Regions from separate parts of the Homo sapiens genome. Here all the other regions are linked to region 3. The links are contacts of gene promoters, found by promoter capture Hi-C in blood cells and fetal thymus (Javierre and others, 2016). All regions are on one chromosome and are shown on one strand. Each heading gives the region's core, a stretch centred on a gene start or on the middle of the fragment in contact. The rest is flanking DNA. Distances are from core to core; before and after follow the strand shown. Region 1 has its middle 6.1 kb from the start of ZNF461. Region 2 overlaps ZNF567 (zinc finger protein 567). Region 3 holds the start of ZNF227 (zinc finger protein 227). Region 4 overlaps ZNF461 (zinc finger protein 461). Region 5 holds the start of ZNF420 (zinc finger protein 420). Region 6 overlaps ZNF175 (zinc finger protein 175). Region 7 overlaps ZNF420 (zinc finger protein 420).

Region 1 (3,357 bases), core at 760-3,259, 7.5 Mb after region 3:
GGTATTCTGCCCAGGGAAGAAGAGCTAGGAGGTTTAAACCTTACCTTGGACTTGCTGCTTTGTTTTCTATGCCTTCTTGACAGAAGGATTTATTTCACTTCCGAAATATTAGCCATAATGCCCTGCTATCAGTAAGAGGACAGCCTTGCTCCATTAGTACCCTTTAGACCCAACATCAACAGACTCTAATCTGTAAGGCATACACATGACGAGAGGACATTCATTCACACCCAGAGCTCCTATGAATTCTTGGGAACTCCCAGGGTTATCACCTGTACTTCTCTAGAAGTCTTTGTCATGCTCTACCTTTGACTTACTTTTATTTCCCCTGTTGAATTATAAGCAATACAAAAGCAGCAATTATATCTTAGTAATTTGTGCTTCTTCCAAGTATTGAAGCACAAGGTCTTGCATGTTGCCAGGCATGCCAGTGTCTTACTCAGAAACCCCCCACTTCTAGGACAATTTGTCTCTTAGGAAGTAATTATAAAAATGAACTAAATAGTATTACAAGAATGCCATTGAAGAATTCCTGATAATAATTAGTAAATAAAAATGTTTGAGAATAAACAGTGTGTTAAATATCATATAATAGAACCCATAATCCTAATGATTTTCATTCCAAATTAGTTGGCACTCATCAGGAATGGCTTTGTGAAGCGGGTGGGATATAGAATAGAAGGTGTCAAGTTAGAAAATGGTAATCTAATAGTTAAAGACTGAGGACTTTGAAATTCAAATTCCAGTTCCTTCTCTTAGGAACTCTGTGACATTTTACAAGTTATTTAAGCTCTTGATGCCTCACCTGCATCATCAGTTTACCGGGAAAGGTATCAATAACTCCCTCAGGGTTCTGAGGGGAGTTAAATGACACTATACATGTAAAATACTTAGGATAGTATATTAAGGTTCTCTAGAGAAACAGAACAAACAGGGTGTGTGTGTGTGTGTGTGTCTGTGTCTGTGTCTGTGTGTATGCATGCACACAGAAAGATTTATTTTAAGGAACTGGCTCATGCAATTGTGGAGCCTTGGTACGTCCAAAATCTGCAAGGCAGGCCAGCAGGCTGAAGACCCAGAAAACAGTTGTGATTCGAAGTCTAAAGGCAGTCTGCTAACACAATTCCCTCTTGCTCAGACATTAGCCTTTGTACTATTAAGAACTTTAGCTGATTGAATGAGGCTCATCCATTGTGTGGAGCGTAATCTGCTTTATTCAGAGTCCACTGATTTAAGTGTTACTCTCATCCAAAAAAACACCTTTCACAGAAACATCCAGAATAATGTTTGACCAAATATCTGGGCATCATGGCCCAGTCAAGTTGACACATAAAATTAACCATCATAAGTCCACCCTTGTCGACTTGGTACCCATAAGCATCTCCTAAAACCATACTTCATATCTGAATAAAGGCAGTAACAAGGTTATACTTCTGCTTAACATGATACAACTATCCTGCATAAAACCAAAAATAACTAACACTTCCCCAGAAGAGGATGCAAAGTCTGGATGATGTTAATGCTTCTCCCTGATATCCCATAACTTAAAAACTGATATAAAGTTAACAATATTTAAATACTCTAATATAAAGTCAGTATATCATACTGTACATGATAAAGAGATATGAAAGGGATGAAAACAAAGCTGTGTTGTATACACATTCATTATAAAATAAAGAAGACACATTCATGACAATTAGTCTTTGTTTCTGTAACTGCTCACGTGGTTATAGCTGGTATTCATACCTACCTTCTTCCATTATCCATTATGTATTCCTTTTTCCCTCAGCAAGCGAGCTCCTCAGCTGATTGTGGTTCTTTAACTGGTGGGGTGACCCAAACCTTCATTCGTTAAGGGTCTGGATGGTAGTTTTGGCAGAAGCATTTTGTGTCAGGAAGGCAAATTTGTATCTAAAGTGTGTATTCCAGTAAGAAAAAAATACTACCCCTTCCATGATGGAAGCAATCCAATGTATCAGCCTGCCACCAGGGAATGGTGCCATATTGGGGAGCCAATGTTGGTCTTGGCTGCCAGCAGACTGGGCACTCAGCAGTAGCTGTAGCCAGTTTGGCTTTGGTGAGCAGAAGTCCATGTTGCTGAGCCCATGCATAACTTTCATCACTGCCATCATGACCACTTTGTTCATGAGCCAATTGGGTGATGATAAGGGTAGCTTGGTAAAGAGGCTGACTGATATCCACAGAATGGGTCATCCTATACACCCGATTATGAAACATCCTCTGCTAAGGTTACCCTTTGGTAAGTATTCACATAGGGCACAAATATCTTTATATTTTTTACCTGTTCAGCGAGGTCCATATCTCTTCCCTAGAATTCCTTGTCACCAGTTTTTAAATAATGTTCCTTCCAAGTTCCTGACCATCCAGCCAGACCATTGGCTACAGTGCATGAGTTGGTATATAATGTCACATCTGGCTATTTCTCCTTCTAGGAAAAATGAACAACCAGGTGCGGTGCTCAGAGTTCCAATCACTGGGAGGATTTCCCTTCACCACTGTTCTTTGGGGATGTCCCAGAACAGGACTGTAGCGCTGTCCAGGTGGTATCTGTCTATCATGCAGAACCATCTGTAAACCAGGCCTGAGTCTTCTCTACCTCTATCAACTGATCATAGGGAACTCCCCATGAGGCCACGAGTGCAGGCTGGGAGAGAAAGGTATTGTAGCAAGAGGGGGGACGATGGGCTTTTGGGCCACTTCTTCACATGTGTGCCTTCAGGGCCTGCTTAGGCCTGATCACATTTATACCACTTAAATTTTATGATGGAGTACTGCTGTGTACACTCAATTTAATGACTTGGTGGGTCAGGTAACACCCATTTCCTGATGGGTAGTGCAGGTTGCATGGTAACTTCGTGGCCCATGATTAAATGTTCAGTCTCTACTAAGGTCCAGTAGGAGGCCAAAAGCTGCCTCTGAAGAGTCGTTTTCTAAAAAGGAAGATAGGGCTTTGCTCCAAAATCCTCAGGGCCTGCACTGTGATTCCTCTGCTGGGCCCTGCCAAAGGCTCCAAACGGCATCCCTCTCTGCTACTGACACTTGAGGCACCATTAGATTTGTTGGATCATGTGGCCCAAGTGGCACATCAGCTTGCACAGCAGCCTGGTCCTGTTGGGGAGTTTTCCTTTGTTCTGGGCCCCGCTGTAAACTAACAGTTTTTTGGATCACTTGGTAAATGGCCAGCAGAATAACACATCCAAGTGAGGAATGCGTTGCTTCCAAAATCCGAAGAGACCCCCTTTGCATTGTGCCTCCTTTTTGACTGTAGGAGGAGCCAGATGGAACAATTTATACTTCATCTTAGAAGGGATATCTCACCATGCTCCACACCACCCG
Region 2 (3,049 bases), core at 199-2,698, 7.5 Mb after region 3:
ATTTTCTCCTAACAATGCTAGAAAGTTCAAACATTTTTATTAAAATTTTAATGGAAATCCATGAAATGTAAGGAAGTTTTGACATTTTATCATGTTGTGTCTTCCTGTCCTTTTATTCAAGTCTTATTTTTATTTTATTTTTGAGACAGGGTCTCACTCTTTGCCTAGGCTAGAATACAGTGGCATGATCATGGCTCACTGCAGCCTCGACTTCCTCAGCTCAAGCAATTCTCCCTCTTGCATAGCAGGGACCATAGGCATGTACCACCCACATCCAGCTAATTATTTTTTAATTTTAATTTTTTTGTTTTTGAGACAGGGTCTCACTCTGTTGCCCAGGATGGAGTGCAGTGGCCTATCACCGCTCATTGCAGCGTCGGCCTCACTGGGCTCAAGTGATCCTCCTATCTCAGCCTCCTGGGTAGCTGGGACTACAGGCGCATGCCATCAAGACCGGCTAACTTTTTTTTTTTTGGTAGAAATGGGGTCTTACTATGTTGCTTAGGCTAGTCTCCAATTCCTGGGCTCAAGCGATCTTCCTGCCTTGGCTTCCCAAAGTGCTGGGATTATAGGTGTGAACCACCACATACCGCCTACTCCCAGGGTTGCTGAAAACTTTGAGAAAGAGTAAGTGGCTCACAGGGGCAGGTATGGGATAAGATATTCTGCATGGCTTTGTCCAAAAGGGCCCAGAGTAGGAAACAGAATCCATGCCCAACGACAGGGAATCAGACACCATAGGCACTTCTCAGTCTTGCAGCAGGCTCTTTTTAAAATTTATTTATTTTTATTTTGAAATGATTATAGATCCACAGAAGCTTGCAAAAATAGTGCAGAGAGGTCTCATTCACCTTTCACCTAGCGTCTCCACAATGGTCACATCTTCCATAACCATAGCATATGGTCAAAATCAGAAAACTGGTTGAGCACAGTAGGTAGCTCATGCCTGTAATCCCATCACTTTGGGAGCACAAGGCAGTAAGATCGCATGAGCTTAGGAGTTTGAGACCAGCCTGGGAAACATAGTGAGACTCTGTCTCTACAAAATAAAAATACACAAATTAGCCAGCATGGGGGCGTGTACCTGTAGTCCCAGCTACTCAGGAGGCTGAGGCAGGAGGGTCACTTAAGCCCAGGAGTTTGAGGCTACAATGAACTATGACTGTGCCACTGTACTTCGACCTGGACAACAGAGCAAGACTCTGTCTCTAAAAAATAAAAACAAAAAATCAGAAAATTGTCATTACACAATGCACCAACTTCTTTCAGATATCACTAGTTTTCCATGCATTCATTATGTGCGTGTTTTTACCATTTTATCACACATTTAGATTTGTGTCACCACCACCACAATCAAGAGGCAAAACTATTCCATGTAAAGATACCATTTTAAAGTAATTGTTTAAACGACCCATCAATACCACTCCTGAGTATCTATCCATGACAAACAAAGACATGTATCTACAAAAAGACCCGAATGTGAATGTTCGTAGCAGTTTTATTCATAACCACCTCAGAACTGGAAACAACCCAAGTGTGCATCAATGGATACACAGACAAACCAACTGTGATCCATCCAGACAATGGAATACTACTTTATACTAAGAAGAATGAAGCAATGATACATGCAATAATATGAGTGAATTGCAACATGCAACTGAACTGAGCTCATGCCTGTAATCCCAGCACTTTGGGAAGACAAGGCAGGAGGATTGCATGAGCTCAGGAGTTCGAGACCAGCCTGGGCAACATAGTGAGACTCTGTCTCTGCAAAATAAAAATACACAAATTAGCCAGCATGATGGCATGTACTTGTAGTCCCAGCTACAGTTTACTAATTGCAACATCCTTACTGAATGAAGCCAGACTCAAAAGGCTACATTCTGCATGACTCCTTTTATATGAGATGAAATTACAACAGAGGTTACTTCTGTGCCAGGGTGATTGGATGGGGGCTAGAAGTGTTCTGTTTTTGTTTTCTTTTTAAATTTGGGTGATGGTGGTGACATGAGTTTAAAAAAATCCAAATATATACATTTGCTTATATTAAAATAATGAAAGGATAAGCTGAAAGCTTAGATAAAAGATAGAATATAATATTCGGTTGCTTTTGTCACTAACAAAGTATCCTGGAGGCCAGGCAAGGTAGCTCACACCTATAATCCCAGCACCTGAGGAGGCCAAGGTGGGCAGATCACTTGAGCCTAGGAGTTCAAGAACAGCCTAGGAAACATAGCAAGACCCCCAACTGTACAAAAATAAAATAAAATAAAATTAGCCAGGTATGGTTGTACATGCCTGTAGTCCCAGCTACTTGGGAGGCTGAGGTGGGAGGATCACCTGAGCCCAGGGAGATCGAGGCTGCAGTGAGCCATGATCAAGCCACTGCACTCCAGCCTGGGCAACGGAGGGAGACCTTGTCTCAGAAACAAACAAACAAAACAAGAAAACAAAAAAATCCAAAGTATCCTGGAGGCCCTTCTCCATAAATCCATGCAACTGATCCCTTTTCATGGCTGCATAATACTCCTCAGTGGCACTGTACTTGGTTAATCCAACCAGTTTCCTTCTCTTGGATATTTGGAATTCAATTATTTCTTTACACTTTCCAAAATAATTCCCTGTGATGTAGATCCAATGACCCTCACAAAAACCCTGAGTGAGGTAGGTCCTATTATACCTGAAATTGACTAACATGACTAACACAGGAGACACTCATGGCTTGCTCAGTGTTACACATTGCAGAGGTGGCCTAGCCAAGATTTTTTAAATGACAGCATTGAGATATAATTTACACACCATAAAATTCATCCATCTAAAGTATACGATTCAATGGTTGTTGGTATATTCACAAACCATCATAATGAACAATCATCCACAACCTAATTTTAGAACATTTCAATCACCATGAAAGAAACTCCAAAAGAATGCATGCCAAATTTAAGATCATTAAGATGTATGCCTATGTGTTTTTTCCTAAGAGTTTTATAGTTTCTTTTGTTTTGTTTTGAAACAAAGTCTCACTCTGTTGCCCAGGCTGGAGTGCAGT
Region 3 (3,394 bases), core at 766-3,265:
AATTAGCTGGGAGTGATGGCGCACACCTGTAACCCAGTTACTCGGGAGCTTGATGCAGGAGAATCACTTGAACCTGGGAGGTGGAGGTTGCAGTGAGCTGAGATCACGCCACTGCACTCCAGCCTGGGCAACAAGAGTGAATCTCCATCTCACAAAAAAAAAGAAAAAAAAAGAAAAAAGAAAATTTTCATAATAAGAAAAAAACTACTACACAGAATACCAAACCTATTTTGAGAAACATCCATAGCATATACTAAAGGGAAACACATTAAAGTGTTAGCAGTTTTATTATAAGTAATTTAAGTTTTCTGAATATAACATCACTGTCCAATAGAAATATACTGAGACACATAAATAATTTTAAATTTTCTAGCAGTAACATATAAAAAAGGCAAAAAAACAAAAACAAAAATAGGTGAAGTTAATTTCAACAACATAATTTAAGCCAATGTATCCAAAATATTACCATTTTGACATATAATACAAAAAATTATCAATGAGCCATCTTACATTTTTTGTACAAAGTTTTTGAAATCCAGTGTGTATTTAACACTTACAGCACATCTCAATTTGGACTAGACACATTTCAAGTGCTCCTAGGGCACACATGGCTTATAGCTACTGGATTGGATAGTGCATCTCTATAATGAGCATTCATTACTTCTATAACTAGAATATGACATATTTTGACATGGAATGAAATTAAGTAAGTGAGATGTTGCAGGATTTTTCTAAAAAATTCAAAATTCATCAGTGCAGTTTTTGAGGTCTTCCACAGTAAAATCCATACCTACATTCCCAAGGCTGATTTCCAACGACTCACCGGTAGCCATATGGATTACTATTTAAGATAACTGAAGACGACTGTATCATTGAGATTAAGACCACAGACTCAGAAAAAGGAATAGAAAATAAACAACAACAAAAACCAAAGAAACAAAAACAAACAAAAAAGATCACACAGTCTGAAAAGGAATGCTTGGGTTCAATCCCAAATCCACCTCTTACTATCAGTTGAATAACTTCGGGAAAGTATTTAATAACATAAACTCTGCCTAATTTCCTCATAACAAAATAACAAGACCTACTTCATCAATAGCTATGGTCCACAGACGAATGCCTTAAAATCAAAGTGGTAAGATGTTATTGGTAATACTCATTTCCAAGTAGTTTTCCTACCCACTCTCACATTTATTCAACAAATATTTCATCATTTTTCAGTAGTAACTTACTGAGTGACGGAAACTTGATTAACTGAAAGGACAGAAAATGGAACAACAAAGTGCGTTCAAGAGCAGGTACCTGGGGCTATGCTGGGAGAAGCCAAGAAGTCCCTCCTTCCTCCTCTTTGCAAATTCGGAGGCGGTGAATAAAAGGATGCTGTCAGCACGATGGAGTCTCTATCCCGGATAAACGGCGGTAAACATCCCCACGCATTGGAGCCCGATGACTCAATCCTTCTTAAAAAAAAAAAAGATCTGTAAAAGTTCGGGAAGAGCTCGGTCTCCTGAAGGATACGACAGAAAGGCCATGGCATAAAGCCCTGACTTTTCTTCTCTCTTCACTGGAGCTTCCAGTAAAAAGGGCGCTTGTGAGGGAATCACTGTATCAATAGCAGGAGCCAACCCAGTATCAGGTGCCACCACTGTTCTAAGGTTTGACCCGTATTATCTTGTTTAATTCTAATTACAACCCTACACAGTAACGACTATCTTTATTGCTATTTTAAAGATGAGGAAACAGGAGCGCGGATCATAGGTAACTCGCTGTTTATTATACCCACAGAACTAGCGGCGCTGCTTGCCAAGTGCGGGAGGAGAGCAAACTTCCCGCCCTCGGCCTCTCGGCCTCCGCCGCGGCCGCGACCTCTCCATCCCAAGACTGATGGCTGGGGAGCGCCTATTCCCAAGCACAGGCTGAAAAGGTTCAAGAGGGGTCGTGGGGGTGCAGGGCTGACTCACCTCCCGGACCCAAAAGATGGTGGCGGCCTCGCTTTCCGGGGCGGAAGTGGCTCTGCCTGCCCAGAGCTCCTGAACTACCCTTCCCAGAAGGCCCGCGCTCCTGCGGCCCAATTGTTTCCGGACAGAGTTCTGGAATACGTTTCCCAGAACTTCCAGAAGGAAAAACCATCCAGGTGCCGCCCTCTTCGCGCTTGAAAAAAAAAAAAACAAAAAAAAAAACGGAGCGAGCGAGTGAGAGAGGGTTACGGAGAGTGTGACAAAATTCTCGGAGCTCCCGGACTACAACATCCAGAATCCTCTTCACGGCTTATTGCTGTTTAGCCAGGCTGAAGCAGTTCTCTGATGTCAGTGGAATTTAGGTTTTTCTTATTAACAAAAAGTAACAGCAAATATGTGAAGAATTGGAGCCCTAAAATAAAAAAAGACTCCCAGCACTTTGGGAGGCCGAGGCGGGCGGATCACGAGGTCAGGAGTTCCAGACCAGCTTGGCCAATATGATGAAGCCCCGTCTCTACTAAAAATATAAAAATTAGCCGGGCGTGGTGGCGCGCGCCTGTAGTCCCAGCTACTTGGGAGGCTGAGGCATAAGAATCGCTTGAACCCTGGAGGGTGCAGTGAGCCAAGATCGTGCCACTGCACTCCAGCCTGGGCGACAGAGTGAGACTCTGTCTCAAAAAAAAAAAAAAGAAAAAAAAAACTATTATAAGAAACAGATCACGTGATCCTGTACTAATAGAATTATACCCACCACTTCCAAAAAAAAAAAAAAAAAGGGCAGAGGAAACCCTTTAAGTTTTTACATTTAACAGGATCGACTAATAGAAAAACTACTCTTTAGATACTAAAAGAATGAAAGAGCAATCAAAAAATGCAACGAAGGCAGAATATATTATGGATTTCCACTTTTCTTAATAGCACAGTCATATAATTCAGAACAACTTGCTTACTGAGGATAGCTAGACATAGAAAACACAAGCTTTGGCATATGGTAGATCAACTCCACAAAGCAACTAGGGCCTCTGTAATCATTCCTCAAGGAGTTTCTGAATTTGAAAGATGAACAAATTTATTACTTCAGTGTTTAAACCTTGATCTTTATTTGCTTAAATGTATAATGGAATTGATGTTTCCAAGAATTGAGGGTTGAAAGAAGAGAGCAATACCTAAAAATATCCACATATCTACTACAGTACATGTTTGCAGTTCTCATTTACTAAATATATATTCTTTATTCTGTTATATACAACTATCTCTTATAAAGAACCAAGTATGTGCCAGGAACTAGTTCAAACTATTCAGACTATGGGACCCTCACTACATTTTCACAACTTTTTTCTTTTTTTTTTTGTTCTGTTTTGTTGTTGTTGTTGTTGTTGTTGTTGTTAGACAGAGTTTGGCTCTTTTGCCCAGGCTGGAGTGAAGTGGCATGACCT
Region 4 (3,382 bases), core at 735-3,234, 7.6 Mb after region 3:
CAGAATTCCGCTAACAATTCACAATCTACTTCTTGGAATTTCTGCTTTCCCCCCTATTAATTTAGGGCTAGCTTTCAAATAACTGGATGAATTTTCTCTTTATGTATTGTAGAAACCAGCACAGCTAAATGGAGGTACATTTTCATTTTCCCCATCCTTACACGTTCTTTTGGTCCTTTCTTATAATAACTCCTCCTTGATGTTTAAGGGGCAGAATTGGAAATCTGCAATGTTAAAGCATAACACTGTCAAAGAAAGCAGACTCTGTCTTTTGTTTCACTTCCACTGTGCTAAATCTGCTAGTGTACTAGCATAAGATTAAAACTAGACACATGGGTTCCAGGAGTGAAGCTTTTTTCTTTCCTGGGTAATAGAGTGATAGGCTGGAGTAATAAAGGTTCATTTACTATTCTCAAATGAGCACCACTCCATTTCCTATAATAAATGTAATCTTTCACTTTTTATTTTATTTATTTATTTATTTTTGAGACGGAGTTTCGTTCTTATTGCCCAGGCTAGAGTGCAATGGCGTGATCTCGGCTCACCACAACCTCTGCCTCCCAGCTTCAAGCAATTCTCCTGCCTCAGCCTCCCGAGTAGCTGTGATTACAGGCATGTGCCAACACGCCTGGCTAGTTTTGTATTTTTAGTAGAGATGTGTTTTTTCCATGTTGGTCAGGCTGGTCTCAAACTCCCGACCTCAGGTGATCCACCTGCTTCGGCCTCCCAAAGTGCTGGGATTACAGGCATGAGCCACCGCACCTGGCCTTTTTAATTTTTTTTTGAGACAGAGTTTCACTTTTGTTGCCCAGGCTAGAGTGCAATGGCATATCTTGGCTCACTGCAACCTCTGCCTCCCAGGTTCAAGCAATTCTCCTGCCTCAGCCTCCTGAGTAGCTGGGATTACAGGTGCCCGCCACCACGCCCAGCTAATTTTTGTATTTTTAGTAGAGACAGGGTTTCACCATGTTGGCCAGGCTGGTCTCGAATTCCTGATCTCAAGTGATCCACCCGTCTTGGCCTCCCAAAATGCTGGGATTACAGGTGTGAGCCACCGCGCCTGACCTGTACTCTCTTTTAAGTGATTTGCCTTTGGAAGTTATTTTTAAAGAACTTTGTACAGTTAACATTAAAAAAAAAAAGGAGGCTGGGTGCTGTGGCTCATGCCTGTAATCCCAGCACTTTGGGACGCTGAGGCAAGTGGATCACCTGAGGCCAGGAGTTTGAGACCAGCCTGGCCAATATGGGCCAAACCCCGTTTCTACTAAAATACAAAAATTAGCCAGGCAGAGTGGTGTGCGCCTATAATCCCAGCTACTTAGGAGGCTGAGGCAGGAGAGTCACTTGAACCCGTGAAGTGGAGGTTGCAGTCAGCCAAGATTGTGCCATTGCACTCCAGCCTGGACAACAAGAGCAAAACTCCATCTCAAAAAAAAAAAAAAGAATAAATATCTCAAGAAGCTTCTTTTTTTTCCTCACAGCAAAAAAGAGAAACCTTACATAAATTTAAGTACTATTTTATCGCCTGTTTGTTTGCTTTGTTTGTTATGATCCTGTGTTCATCTGAATATGAGTGTTTCATCTCTTCTCCTTTATTTCCTCTGTATCCCTTATCAAGTACCATTTTTATCTGTGATTTATTTTTATTTTAATCAGTTCTAAATCACTGTATTTGGATACATTCATTTCCATCTCATCTCAATTTCTTTTCTTATAACTAGGACTTTCTGTTTCTAAGCCAGCCGTAATCTCCTCATTGGAGCAAGGGAAGGAGCCCTGGATGGTTGTGAGGGAAGAGACAGGAAGATGGTGCCCAGGTGAGTGAGCAAGCACAGGAAGCTCTTGCAGAGAGCAGGCCAGCTGGTCAGAATGTTGGGCTGGCAAGTTTATTTTAAACCAAACTTTGGGAAAACCTGATTTCAAAACATATTACAAAGATATAGTAATCAAACAGTGTGGTACTGGCATAAAGATATTCTAGGCCGGGCGCGGTGGCTCACGCCTGTAATCCCAGCACTTTGGGAGGCCGAGGCGGGCAGATCACGAGGTCAGGAGATCGAGACCACGGTGAAACCCCGTCTCTACTAAAAATACAAAAAATTAGCCGGGCGCAGTGGTGGGCGCCTGTAGTCCCAGCTACTCGGGAGGCTGAGGCAGGAGAATGGTGTGAACCCGGAAGGCGGAGCTTGCAGTGAGCGGAGATCGCGCCACAGCACTCCCGCCTGGGCGACAGAACGAGACTCCGTCTCAAAAAAAAAAAAAAAAAAAGATATTCTAAAGGAATAGAATAGAAAGCCCAGAAATAAACCCTTGCATAAATAGTCAAATTATTTTAGACAAGGGTGCCAACACTTCCATGGAGAAAATTGGATTATCCACAGGCAAAGGAATACAGTTGTACCCTTGTCTTACACCATATAGAAAAATTAACTCAGAATGGATCAAAGACCTAAATGTGAGAGCTAAAGCAATAAAACTCTAAGTAGAAAATATTGGAGAAAAGCTTCATGACATTGGATTTGGCAATGATTTATTGTGTATAATACCAAAAGCACTGGCAACAAAAGCAAAAACAGACAAATGGGACTACATCAAACCTAAAAACTTCTGTACATCAAAGGACACAATCTATAGTGTTTATTAATTTTTGTTTGTTTGTTTTGAGACAGGGTTTCACTCTGTCACTCAGGCTGGATGGAGTACAGTGGTGCAAACTCAGCTCACTGCAACCTCTGCCTCCCTGGCTCAAGCAATCCTCTCACCTAAGTTTCCTGAGTAGCTGGAACTACAGGCCCATGCCACCATGCATGGCTAATTTTTTAATTTTTTGCAGAGATGAGGTCTCACTGTATTGCCCAGGCTGGTCTCGACCTCCTTAAGCAATCCTCCCACCTCAGCCTCTGAAAGTGCTAGGATTACAGGCATACACCACTGTGCCCAGCCTGCTTATTAGTTTTTTAAAAGATTCAGGCTGGGCTCAGTGGCTCACACCTGTAATCTCAGCACTTTGGGAGGCTCAGGTGGGAGGATTACTTGAGCTTAGGAGTTTGTGACCAGTCTGGGCAACATAGCAAAAGCCCTGTCTTTACAAAAAATTAAAAATTAAAATATTCACCAGGCATGGTGGTACATGCCTGTAGTCCCAGATGTTCAGCAGACTGAGGTGGGAGATCACTTGAGCCCAGGAGTTTGAGGCTACAGTGAGCCAAGATTGTACCACTTTACTCCAGTCTAGGTGACACTGCAAGATGCTGTCTCTAAATAAATAGATAAAAGATCCATACAAGTTGCTTTGCTAGGTGATGGGAATACATTTTTAAAGTGTTATAGAGACGTTTTCAATCTAACAGGGGATCAACAATACATGGATGGATGTTCTAAT
Region 5 (3,360 bases), core at 584-3,083, 7.1 Mb after region 3:
CTCCATCCTCTTAATCTCATTTAACATAAAGAAAAGTCAGGAGGAGACTAGAATAAGTCTTCTACCTTCTGTATCAGAAAGAAGGGCCAGGTCACAGCTGTCTTGGGCTTGAATTTATTTCTGTATTCAAAGCTGTACACTGGAGACAGTCCTGCAGTGGGGTGCTTCAGGTTCAGAACTGGGTGGCTGTCTCCTAAAGCACTCCCTCTGAAACTATTCCCACTCCTGGAGTCCCATTATATTTCCAGTGGCCTATTTATTTATTTATTTAGAGAATGAGTTTCACTCTTGTTGCCCAGGCTGGAGTGCAGTGGCTTGATCTTGGCTCACTGCAACCTCCGCCTCCCGGGTTCAAGCAATTCTCCTGCCTCAGCCTCCTAAGTAGCTGGGATTACAGGCATGCGCCACCACGCCCAGCTAATTTTGTATTTTTAGTAGAGGTCATGGTGAAACCATGACCTCAGGTAATCCACCCGCCTCTGCCTCCCAAAGCGCTGGGATTACAGATGTGAGCCACCGCGCACAGCATCCAGTGGCTGTCTTGAAGGTATTATCAGCCCTAAAATTCTCATCCTAAGACCAGGTCTGTAACTTGCAAATAACTCCTATTCATCACTCAGGTGTCCAAATGTCTGACTTCCTTACTTCTTGCCACTTCCCTGCACCCAATCCCCTTAAGGCTATAAGGCAAGAGGACGCAGGGAAGAAGTCGTGAACTCGTAAGTAACTACATTTCCCAAGGTGAACCGAGGATGGATACAGAAATGAAGCAATACAGGCCATGGATGAAAGGGCAGCCACTGTGGTCAAATCAAAAAGTCCTTAAGTCCTCAGAGCCACATGGGAGGAGCACAGAGCCACATGGGACTCACAATCCATAGGCAGACCTCAGCCCCAAATGAACCCCAGAAATACCAAAAAGAAATTTACTTCTGTACTGGACTAAACCCCCATAAGGTCACAGAATATACAAATGGCCACATAAAGTCACACATAATCACATTTCCACAGTTACACAGCTAGAGGCACAATCACCCAATTATGCTACATTGTTAGACCACCTTGTCTCAAACAAAATCCCATTAAGTACAAGGCATATAATTACATCCAAGCACCTTGTCAGAGACACATACCGCCAAAAACACCCTTTCAAAGCTGCAATTTTAGTCTCTTTACACAGTCATGAAAACAGCACACACAACCCCACAGTCACACACAATCAGACAGTCACCCAACCCAGTACGAAATCAGGGAAACACGCGGTAATAAACACCGTGTCACAGCAACACTGTCACACACCTTAAATTTACTGGCAAATCCATCCCACGATATCAGGTTTACACACAACCTCAAAGTGACACAAGAACATCCAAACACTCTTGTCACAACTGTCACACACTTCATAGTCACAGGCAAACCCCAATTATACACGCGGCACACATAAAATCACAGTCACATAAGTATATCCCAGCCAGGTAAGCAAACAGTCACAAACACCCTCAGAGTCACAACTCACACTCATACAAATGCTCATACACAAAACCACAGCCACACACGTCCAGTCGTGTATGCACAGGCAGTCGCCAATACCAGGCAGGCTGTAGCCTGCACACAAAACCGGAGACACGGCCACACGAGTAACCCCAGCGACGCTTTCTCCGCGCGTGTCCGCTCCGGCATCCCGGACACTCCTACCTTGACAGAGGTGCAGTTCAGGGTCCAAGATCTGGCTCCCGGGTTCCAAGCCCAATTTCGGGTTCGCCAGCCCAGCAGGTGCGGAGCCAAGCTCCTCCACAGACGCGGCCCTCTCCCCACGCGAGGCCTCCAAATCTCGCAAACTAACGGAAATGAAGCTACGCTCCGGGAGCGGTGCCTCTGGGAAATGTAGTCCAGCGCTCCGGACGCCGTGCCTCTGGGAAATGTAGTCCAGCGCTTGGCTAGCCGGCCAGAACGCCAGGAGGCCCGGGCCGCTCACCCCTCGAGGGGCTCGTGGGCTCGGCCTGTGGAACCTGCTTGTCCCGCCTGCAGCGCCCCGGAGGTTTCTGGGAGTGCCCGCCCGCCCGCGCTCAGTGCGCAGGCGTCAGACGCTCAGGGCCTGCGAGAGCGAGCTGAGTGGTCCCAGGGTCTACCCCTGGCAGGAGAGAGGGTGGGACCCGCCGGCCAGGCAGGTGCGGGGGAGGAGCTGGGGCCGGTGCGGGGACCCGCCGGAACCTCGGATTTGCAGAGGACCCTGTGTGTGCCCTCCCAGGCCCTTGGGGTGTGTGTGACAATGGGAGATGCCAGGTGGACTGAGAGTCTTTCCGTGGCCGGGTGTGTATGGTTGTGTTTCTGCCTGTGTGTGATTCTTCCTGCTGTGGGGTGTGAGGTGATTTGTACTTTAAGCTGCGTAGTAATGGGATTTTATAACTGTGTAGAATCGTCTAACAGAGTAAGACGATTTTACACAGATCTCTATTGTGGTTTGCTTATGAAGGGTATCTGTATGTATATCTGCTTTTTTGTGTGTGGCCGTAATTGAGTAACTGGTGATCTGTGTTATATAAACGTGCTTTCTTTGTGCTTGTATTTCAGTGTCTGTAAGGGTGCCAAGAGCAAATGAGCTGTGTGTGATCGTGTGTGACAGTGAAAATACTATGGCCAAGTTATTTCTTCCTTAAATAGTAATGTAATAATCTGGAAAAGATAATCAATTTATCTGACAAGTAATTTAGACATCATTTTTCTATTGGATCAAATATATGTGTTATCGGGAAGAATCCAAAATTAACGTAGTTTTTTCTTTGTTTTTAGAAAGATTATTTCAAAACCAGTCCTAGGGTAACTGCCTTTTCCTCTGCCACAGCAGGCCAAAAGTAGATATCCATTATTTTCTAATTAGAGGGTAAAGTTTCTCTTATTACTGGGTACGGTTGAGAGGCCATCAACTAATAAAATAATAAAACAACGTTATACATAAGAAGAGTGAATTTTAGCACAGTACAGCACTAGTCAGATTTCCCAAATTCTAGGTCAAACACTTGTCCTCATTTTCTGATGAGAAAACCTTGGCCGGCAGAAAGTAACTTAAGGCTGTAGAGTTTGTTGGTAAACCTGAACTTATTTTTACTTACTTCAAGACCTCTTGGCCTTTTATGATTTTTGAATAATCAAAAACTTGTGAACTTCCAGCACAGAGAAGATAGAGTATAATTTCACCACTCCTTCAGAGGGAAAAAAATTAATAAAACTTGGTCTTGCAAGACCATATATCAAATACATTGATCTCTTACCGGTAATGTGACTGGAATAGCAAATTTGGTGATCAGAATTCTTGAGGGAATGAACCTGTGTGTGTGATCAGGCATAGCTATGTGAAATATA
Region 6 (3,387 bases), core at 98-2,597, 7.4 Mb before region 3:
AAACCAAAATATAAATCAAAAGGTAAGAAAAAGTAACTCACTAAAGACAAGTAATTGACCAATAAAATTATGAAAAAAAAGCCTGTTTGTAAACAAAGTAATGCAAATTAAAACACTATACTATCTTTATTTCCATCACATTAGAAAAGATAAAAATAACAAAATAAAAATAGTACTGTCCAGAGCAGAGGGAAATACACACCACAAAGAGAAGATAATGTGCATGGTACTGGGATATACTCTGACATGAATTCAGACACTGATGGAAAATCTGAATTAGCGACAGCAGTATTGATTCAAATGATAAACTGGAAATCAGGTCAAGCAGAAAAAAAATTTCATTGTTAAAAAAGGAAAAAAGCTTATATTGAACATGTGTCCTAAAACGCTAAACTTGAAGATGTTCTGAACACGCAAGTTGACCAACATCAATGCAAATGAGAGAAACGTTTGTGCATCTGCACTGCTGTCACAAAGACTTAGACAATTTCATGTTTTAAACTTGTTTTGTTTTGAGACAGGGTCTCACTCTATTGCCCAGGCTGGAGTGTAGTGTCATGATTGCAGCTCACTGCAACCTTGACCGCCTCAAGCTCAGGTGATCCTCCCACGTCAACGTACTCAGTAGCTGGGACTACAGGTGCATGCCACCACACCTGGCTAATTTTTGTATTTTTGTAGAGTCTCGCCATGTTGCCCAGGCTGGTCTCCAACTCCTGGGCTCAAGTGATCCGCCCGCCTCGGCCTCCCAAAGTGCATGAGCCACTGTGCCCCACCTAAACTTGTATGTTTCAATTTTTCTTTTAAGAACGACTTTTAAATATTTGGGGTATTTACAATTTTGAAAATGATTTATATGTGCAATTTATTTTGTGTTAATGTTCCCTTCTTTTAATACTTTCTATTATCAAATGTTTCTAGCAGGTTGAGATGATTTTAACAGGTTACTGAAATATATAATCTCACAATATATTGGTTCAGGATAATAACACACATATTTATTATACTTTTTTTAAAAAACAGAACATCTCTGTAAATTTGGTTATAAACCCATCACAGAACAATGGTACACTGTTTACTATTATAGTCACATACTATTTAAAGACTTGTAAATAAAGCATCAAGAGATACACAGAATAATTTAGGATTTCAGGAAATCTTGACTATACCAAGAATTCTGATTTCTTGTTACCAAATCCTGACTATTTCTATCTGTGGGCAATCTGGAAACACTGTTTTCCAGCATTTTTTGTTCACCTTTTTAAACAGGAAAAAGTGTTTAAAAGCCTCTTCACATGGTCCTTAAAAGCCTCTTCTCACTCTACCTCCCTGTGACTATTTAAATTACAAAGGAAGGAGATTTTGCCGCACCTTATGAGAACAGAGGAAAAACGGGCCAAACCCCATGGACCAAGCAAGGAATTTGGTGGGGGGGACCACTTGAAATTTTTCAAAGACCCAGTGGTGGATGAAGGAGCAGAACCAGTGCTTAGCAGGAAAGAGTCAGCTTTTCCATCCTATGACTGGGGCTTCTGATCAGACCAGGGACTACAGTTTCTTCTTTCTTGACCCAAGGCCAACCCTCTACTATCCTCTTTTATCAGCCAGTTCATGGTTTCCTCTAGAACACAGATAGCCTATGAATGTGGAAACATCAGCCTCTGTGGTCCTCGCTTGACAGGAGGCTCAAGACTGACTCAGGAGCAGGGAGCCCAGACCTGCTGCATCCTGTGTCTGCCCTCACGTTCTGGAGAACTATCCCCAGGGCTGCCCCTGTTTACCTCGCAAGATCCATCCTGCTTCTCTGGACCCAGGACCTGAGGCTTCTGGGATAAATTCACATCAGCAGGCATCTCCACTCTGGGCTTCTACTCTCGGTCTCTCTTGCTGACAACTCCACTTTTCCCAGGAGCCAGAAGCTGGATAGGTGTTTGGATTTTCCAACCAGGGACACGGCGGAGAGTCGTACTGGGCTATGAAGAGAGATCCTGCAGCCTCAATGATGTGGCCTGACCTGGGGGTTCTGCAGAAGCCTTGGAAAAGCAATGAGTACATGGTCACTCATTCAACATTCACTCCACAAATATTTCCTGAGGGCACTGAGGTGAAGTCACTGTGTCAGACATTGGAGTAGACAAAGTTCAGAAAGCCCAACTCTAGTTATTAGTCAGGGTTAAAAATAAAGACTGAGTCTGGACTAAATGGTGAATTCATTGCAGCTTTGCCACATTTTCACTGTGAGAATATGAAAATATTACTTTAGTTGTAGTTTCCAAAATGAAAATGCAGGTATTTATCACAGATGTTGGGAAACTTAACCAAGATGAAGCTTGTCAAGTCCTCAGTGCCTGCCTGGCACGTGATAAATATGAATTAAAAAAAGAAAGTTGTCAATTTAATTGTCAGCTAAATATCATGGGCATTATCATACCCATTTTGAGGATGAGGATAATGAGGCTGTGTGCTGTTACATAATTTGCCTGAAGGTTACTCAGTCTGTAAATGGAAAAACAGGGAATCAGCCCCACATCTGCCTTGTTCTAAACTGTACACTGTCTCCACTATCTCATGTACCCATACGTGGCCAGCTTCCAGAAACACCATTTCCTCTTTCTGTTGCCTTCATAGAACTCAGGCCGGGAGGTGGCTCTGTCTGGTGTACCTATTCTGAGCTTCTGGACTTTTCAGTCCCCGTCCATAATACACCACACACAGACCAGCCTCTTCTGACTAGAGCTAAAACTTAAAATCACTGTCCCAATCCCCATCTTGACACAGAAAATTTGCAGACATGCATCAGGGCCTCCAGTTACCATTTCTTGCCTGTCCACAATAAGTTGCCCCCACCGCACCTGAATGCAATCACTGACAGGACTGACTTTCAGAAATCCCCAATGAGTGTACTACAGGGCTGCCAGAAAGTTCCAAAATGCCTCCCAGTCACTGACATGGCACAGGCTTCTGAAATCTTTACTGCCCTGATAGCCAAGAAATGTTTCCCAGCGAGCACAATTTTCTGGTTTCCATAAAACGACAAATAATCCCCAACATAGGGGTCCAAATGAAATGCCCCAATAGGAAACCATCATCGATGTGCTCAACTGTCAATTACTGATCCTTACCATGTCCAAGGGACCCAAGAAGAGGCCAACACTGACCCACCCACCAATCCCTGAAGGACCCCAACACTCACTGCCTAGAAAGCAATGCATTCACCCTCACAAATCCCCATCATTGACCCCCTACGCCTCCAGTCAACTGGCTGCCATAGGCTACCCCTGGCAACCCCACTCTACTGATTCCTATAGGTTGCCCATCACTGGTCCCCTGAGAGTGTTACAGTGTGATCCTCAAAGTCCTCCAACCTCTGAAGCTCTTGGCTGCCAA
Region 7 (3,287 bases), core at 407-2,906, 7.1 Mb after region 3:
CTTTTATCATTGAACTCTTAATGTTGGAGTGCTCCGTGGTTCAGTCCTTGCTGTTCTTTACCTTTTCTATACTAAAACCCTAATCATTTAAATAAATATGGGCAATACCTACTAAAGTAATATAATACCAAGTTAGGTATATCTCATACATGAAGTGCCTACTCACTACTGCCATTTTGTGTCTTAAAAGACATCTACAGATTCAACATGTTCAAAGTTGAACTCTCAATCTTCCCCTAAAACCCTGGAACTGAAGTTTTCTCCATCCTGGTTGATGAAAACATTGTATTCCCAGATGCTCAAGACTAAAATCTTTGACTTAAAGTCACCCTAGACTTGTCTCTTTTACATCTAGCCCTTAAACAAATCTTGCTTGCTGTCACATTTACTATATACCTAGAATACAACCAATAACCACTATACCCATTGTTACCTCTTCTTCCGAAGCCATGACATCCTCTTTCATCTGAGTTACTACAACCTCCTCATCGATTTTTTTCAACAGTTGTGTTTCCCTCAAAATAAAGTATCTTTCCAATGGCTTGCACGCTTGGCAAGACATAGCTCTCTGTTATCTCTCAGTTCTGCTCTAGCAACCATCCCTTTGCACAGTGTTCTTCAATAACTTCTCCACTTTTCCTAAAACACTTCAGTGTAGTCCCATTGTAGGACCTCTCTCCTCTGCCTGGAATCACCACACTCCTTCAAGTCTTGGCTCAAGTCTATCCTTCTTGATGGTCTACCTTGATCACTGTATTTCACAAAGCAATCTAAATGATCATATCCCTCCCATTGTCTTTTCAATGACTTTTTCCCCATAACACTTATATTCTAACATACTCTGTGTGTATGATTATCTCCTCCTGTTAGAATTGTTCACTGACAAATATCCAAAACACCTAAGATAGTGGCTGGAATATATTAAGTACCTAATAACTGACTACTTTTAGAACAATAGGCTCCTGTGAGGAAAACATAACCATATTTACTAGCAGACTGCCTTTGTATGCATTGGCAGTGGTCTGATTTCTTGTTCAGGTTGTCACATTAAATCACTGTAAGTGGATTAAGGGTGGAGGATTGAGGGCTTGCCATCATAGATAACATCTTACCAAAGCAATATTGCTTTCAATTGCTGCTAGTGGGCTGCCTAGCTCTACTCTAAATTTATCTCGTTCACAAGACATTACTGAAAGCAGCAAGAAACATGCAACACACATATTCTGAATCACTTCTAGCATTTCCTCTAACATTATAGCATCAACTGATATAAAGCATGCTTGTAAGAGTGGGAGGCAGTGACAAAACATCCTGCCTATTAAAACAAGAATCTTCAAATTCCTAGCTTAATTTGGGCAGTTCCTCATTCTCAATGGCCCTAAGTCAATACCCCATTTGAGATTTCTTTTACCCATAGCATCCCACTTCCAGGTACAAAATTTTATATCCTTAAGAATTTTTATTGTCAATAACAGAACTACAATAGCATCAACAAATAAGATGTTTAATTTTATTTAAAGAGAAACAGGAGGCAAGCAGACCAGAGCTAGTATGGCTGTTCCACAAAGTCATCAGGGTTGCAGACTCCTTCTGTATTTCTGCTCCATGATCCATAACACCCAGATACCATTCTCAAAGTCCCCATGAGAGTAACGGAGCTCCAGCTTAGATGTCCACATTGTAGGCACGGAAAAAAAGACAGGAAAAATGGATTTCGTAAATCTCCTACTCATATAAATATCACTTCTATCTTGTTGACCTGCAAGGAAGGCTGAGATTTTCAGCCCAGAAATTTGTTACTAAAAAAGAGAAAATAGATATAGGGTAGGAAAAAAGCAGTCTGTATCACAAACTCTCATCATTTTTCATTGCAAAATAGTCTGTAATATCAGTTATTTTGTTTACTTCAAAAGCAATACATTCAAGTTTTTAAAAAATTCCTAGATTTATTAGACTTTGGATCTTAGACTTCGTTAAAAATCACTTCACACCTTGTCCCACTTCTCTAACAGCTGTGCTCAATAATACACTGATTACATCCACTGGGTTTTTTTTTTTTTAATAATACACTGATTATATCCACTGGGTTTTTTTTTTTTTAACAGTATGAATTTCCTCTTATAGCAATAATGGATGAGATTTAAATGACAGCTTTCTCACATTCATTATGGCATACAGTGCCCCCCAACCAAGTCATCTTGGATGTGTTGATAAAAGATTTCTCAATATTCATTATACTCATAAGTACTCTCCTCTCATGCAAATTCTCTAAAATAACACTAGTGAAAATGGTAGCTAATATTTGTGGTATGCTACGTTCAAGGCACCATTCTAAGAGCTTTTACATGTAATAACTTACATAATACTTCCAAGAATCTTACAATAAAGGTAATATACTTAGGTCTATCTTAAAATGATTAAACCAAGGTAGAGGTTAAGTATCATGATACATATAACAAAAAGATCAACTAGTAGAGCTAAGATAACGTTGAAAAAGATATTTGTTTTCAATATGGCTAAAGGGCTTCCTACATTTACTATATTAAAACTATTCTCCAATTTGCTAATGTTTAATAGGTTTCCAGTAATGATGTTTTTCTATATGAATGACACTACCATTTTCTCTCACATAAATTATCTGATGCTGTGCTTTATGAGGCAAATGTGCGCCCATATTCACATTTGTGAGAATTCTTTGCTGCTAACAACCAGAGAACCTCTTCATAGTGATCTCAAATAATCAGACAATTCACATGTAAACTTGTGAGCCATGACTAAAGTCAATCCCACATTCCTTATATTCAAAAGATTTCTCACTGATATGAATTCTCTGATGTTGAGTTAGCTGTGAACCACGAGTAAAGGCCTTCCCACATTCCTTACATTGATATGGTTTCTCACCAGTATGAATTCTCTGATGCCGAGAAAGATGTGAACTCTGAGTAAAGGCCTTTCTACATTCTCTGCATTCATAGGGCTTCTCACCAGTATGGATTCTCTGATGTAGAGTAAGCTGAGAGCCATGACTAAAGGCCTTGCCACACTCCTTGCATTCATAGGGTTTTTCTCCAGTGTGAATTCGCTGATGTTGAGTCAACTGTGAACCACGAATAAAGGCTTTCCCACATTCCTTACATTGATATGGTTTCTCACCAGTATGAATTCTCTGATGTTGTATAAGTAGTAAGCCACGCGCAAAGGCCTTTCCACATTCATTACACACATAGGGTTTCTCACCAGTGTGAAGTCTTTGATGTTGGGAAAGATGTGAACTCTGAGTAAAGGCC

What was found. Contacts are between HindIII fragments. The CHiCAGO score rates a contact against its expected background, and 5 or more counts as called.
Region 1: a contact is called between a fragment that was not itself captured here and the fragment with the promoter of ZNF227 in region 3, in 2 of 17 cell types (non-activated CD4 T cells and activated CD4 T cells). The highest score is 13.0, in non-activated CD4 T cells.
Region 2: a contact is called between a fragment that was not itself captured here and the fragment with the promoter of ZNF227 in region 3, in 2 of 17 cell types (total CD4 T cells and non-activated CD4 T cells). The highest score is 6.9, in total CD4 T cells.
Region 4: a contact is called between a fragment that was not itself captured here and the fragment with the promoter of ZNF227 in region 3, in 2 of 17 cell types (naive B cells and naive CD8 T cells). The highest score is 7.1, in naive B cells.
Region 5: a contact is called between the fragment with the promoter of ZNF420 here and the fragment with the promoter of ZNF227 in region 3, in 5 of 17 cell types (activated CD4 T cells, naive CD8 T cells, non-activated CD4 T cells and 2 more). The highest score is 10.5, in activated CD4 T cells.
Region 6: a contact is called between a fragment that was not itself captured here and the fragment with the promoter of ZNF227 in region 3, in 1 of 17 cell types (total CD4 T cells). The highest score is 5.9, in total CD4 T cells.
Region 7: a contact is called between a fragment that was not itself captured here and the fragment with the promoter of ZNF227 in region 3, in 1 of 17 cell types (total CD4 T cells). The highest score is 7.3, in total CD4 T cells.

Annotation. Positions count from the first base shown.
Region 1 is chr19:36,671,296-36,674,652 of GRCh38, reverse strand. It overlaps a transcript of ZNF567 not described here. Among named protein-coding and RNA genes, the nearest start is that of ZNF461, 6.1 kb to the right of the region's middle. The HindIII fragment of the contact is 4,228 bases long and covers 1-3,357 here.
Region 2 is chr19:36,690,551-36,693,599 of GRCh38, reverse strand. All of the region lies in intron 2 of ZNF567 (zinc finger protein 567), which reads right to left. Among named protein-coding and RNA genes, the nearest start is that of ZNF567, 4.5 kb to the right of the region's middle. The HindIII fragment of the contact is 1,256 bases long and covers 821-2,076 here.
Region 3 is chr19:44,211,153-44,214,546 of GRCh38, reverse strand. ZNF227 (zinc finger protein 227) reads right to left here and starts at 2,015. Exons shown (of 6, transcript NM_182490.3): 1 at 1,962-2,015; 2 at 1,303-1,457. The HindIII fragment of the contact is 5,683 bases long and covers 1-2,939 here.
Region 4 is chr19:36,654,883-36,658,264 of GRCh38, reverse strand. ZNF461 (zinc finger protein 461) reads left to right here. Exons shown (of 6, transcript NM_153257.5): 4 at 1,722-1,817. Among named protein-coding and RNA genes, the nearest start is that of ZNF461, 10 kb to the left of the region's middle. The HindIII fragment of the contact is 1,042 bases long and covers 1,464-2,505 here.
Region 5 is chr19:37,076,906-37,080,265 of GRCh38, reverse strand. It overlaps ZNF420 (zinc finger protein 420), which reads right to left and starts at 1,833. Exons shown (of 5, transcript NM_144689.5): 1 at 1,696-1,833. LOC105372390 (a long non-coding RNA gene) reads left to right here and starts at 2,069. Exons shown (of 2, transcript XR_001754095.2): 1 at 2,069-2,168. RefSeq lists an enhancer at 1,758-1,997 and a silencer at 2,088-2,377. The HindIII fragment of the contact is 14,557 bases long and covers 1-3,360 here.
Region 6 is chr19:51,571,796-51,575,182 of GRCh38, reverse strand. It overlaps ZNF175 (zinc finger protein 175), which reads right to left. Exons shown (of 5, transcript NM_007147.4): 2 at 1,782-2,033. The coding sequence starts at 1,853. Among named protein-coding and RNA genes, the nearest start is that of ZNF175, 2.2 kb to the right of the region's middle. The HindIII fragment of the contact is 1,968 bases long and covers 364-2,331 here.
Region 7 is chr19:37,128,521-37,131,807 of GRCh38, reverse strand. It overlaps ZNF420 (zinc finger protein 420), which reads right to left. Exons shown (of 5, transcript NM_144689.5): 5 at 1,440-3,287. The coding sequence ends at 2,750. Among named protein-coding and RNA genes, the nearest start is that of ZNF585A, 43 kb to the left of the region's middle. The HindIII fragment of the contact is 4,439 bases long and covers 1-3,287 here.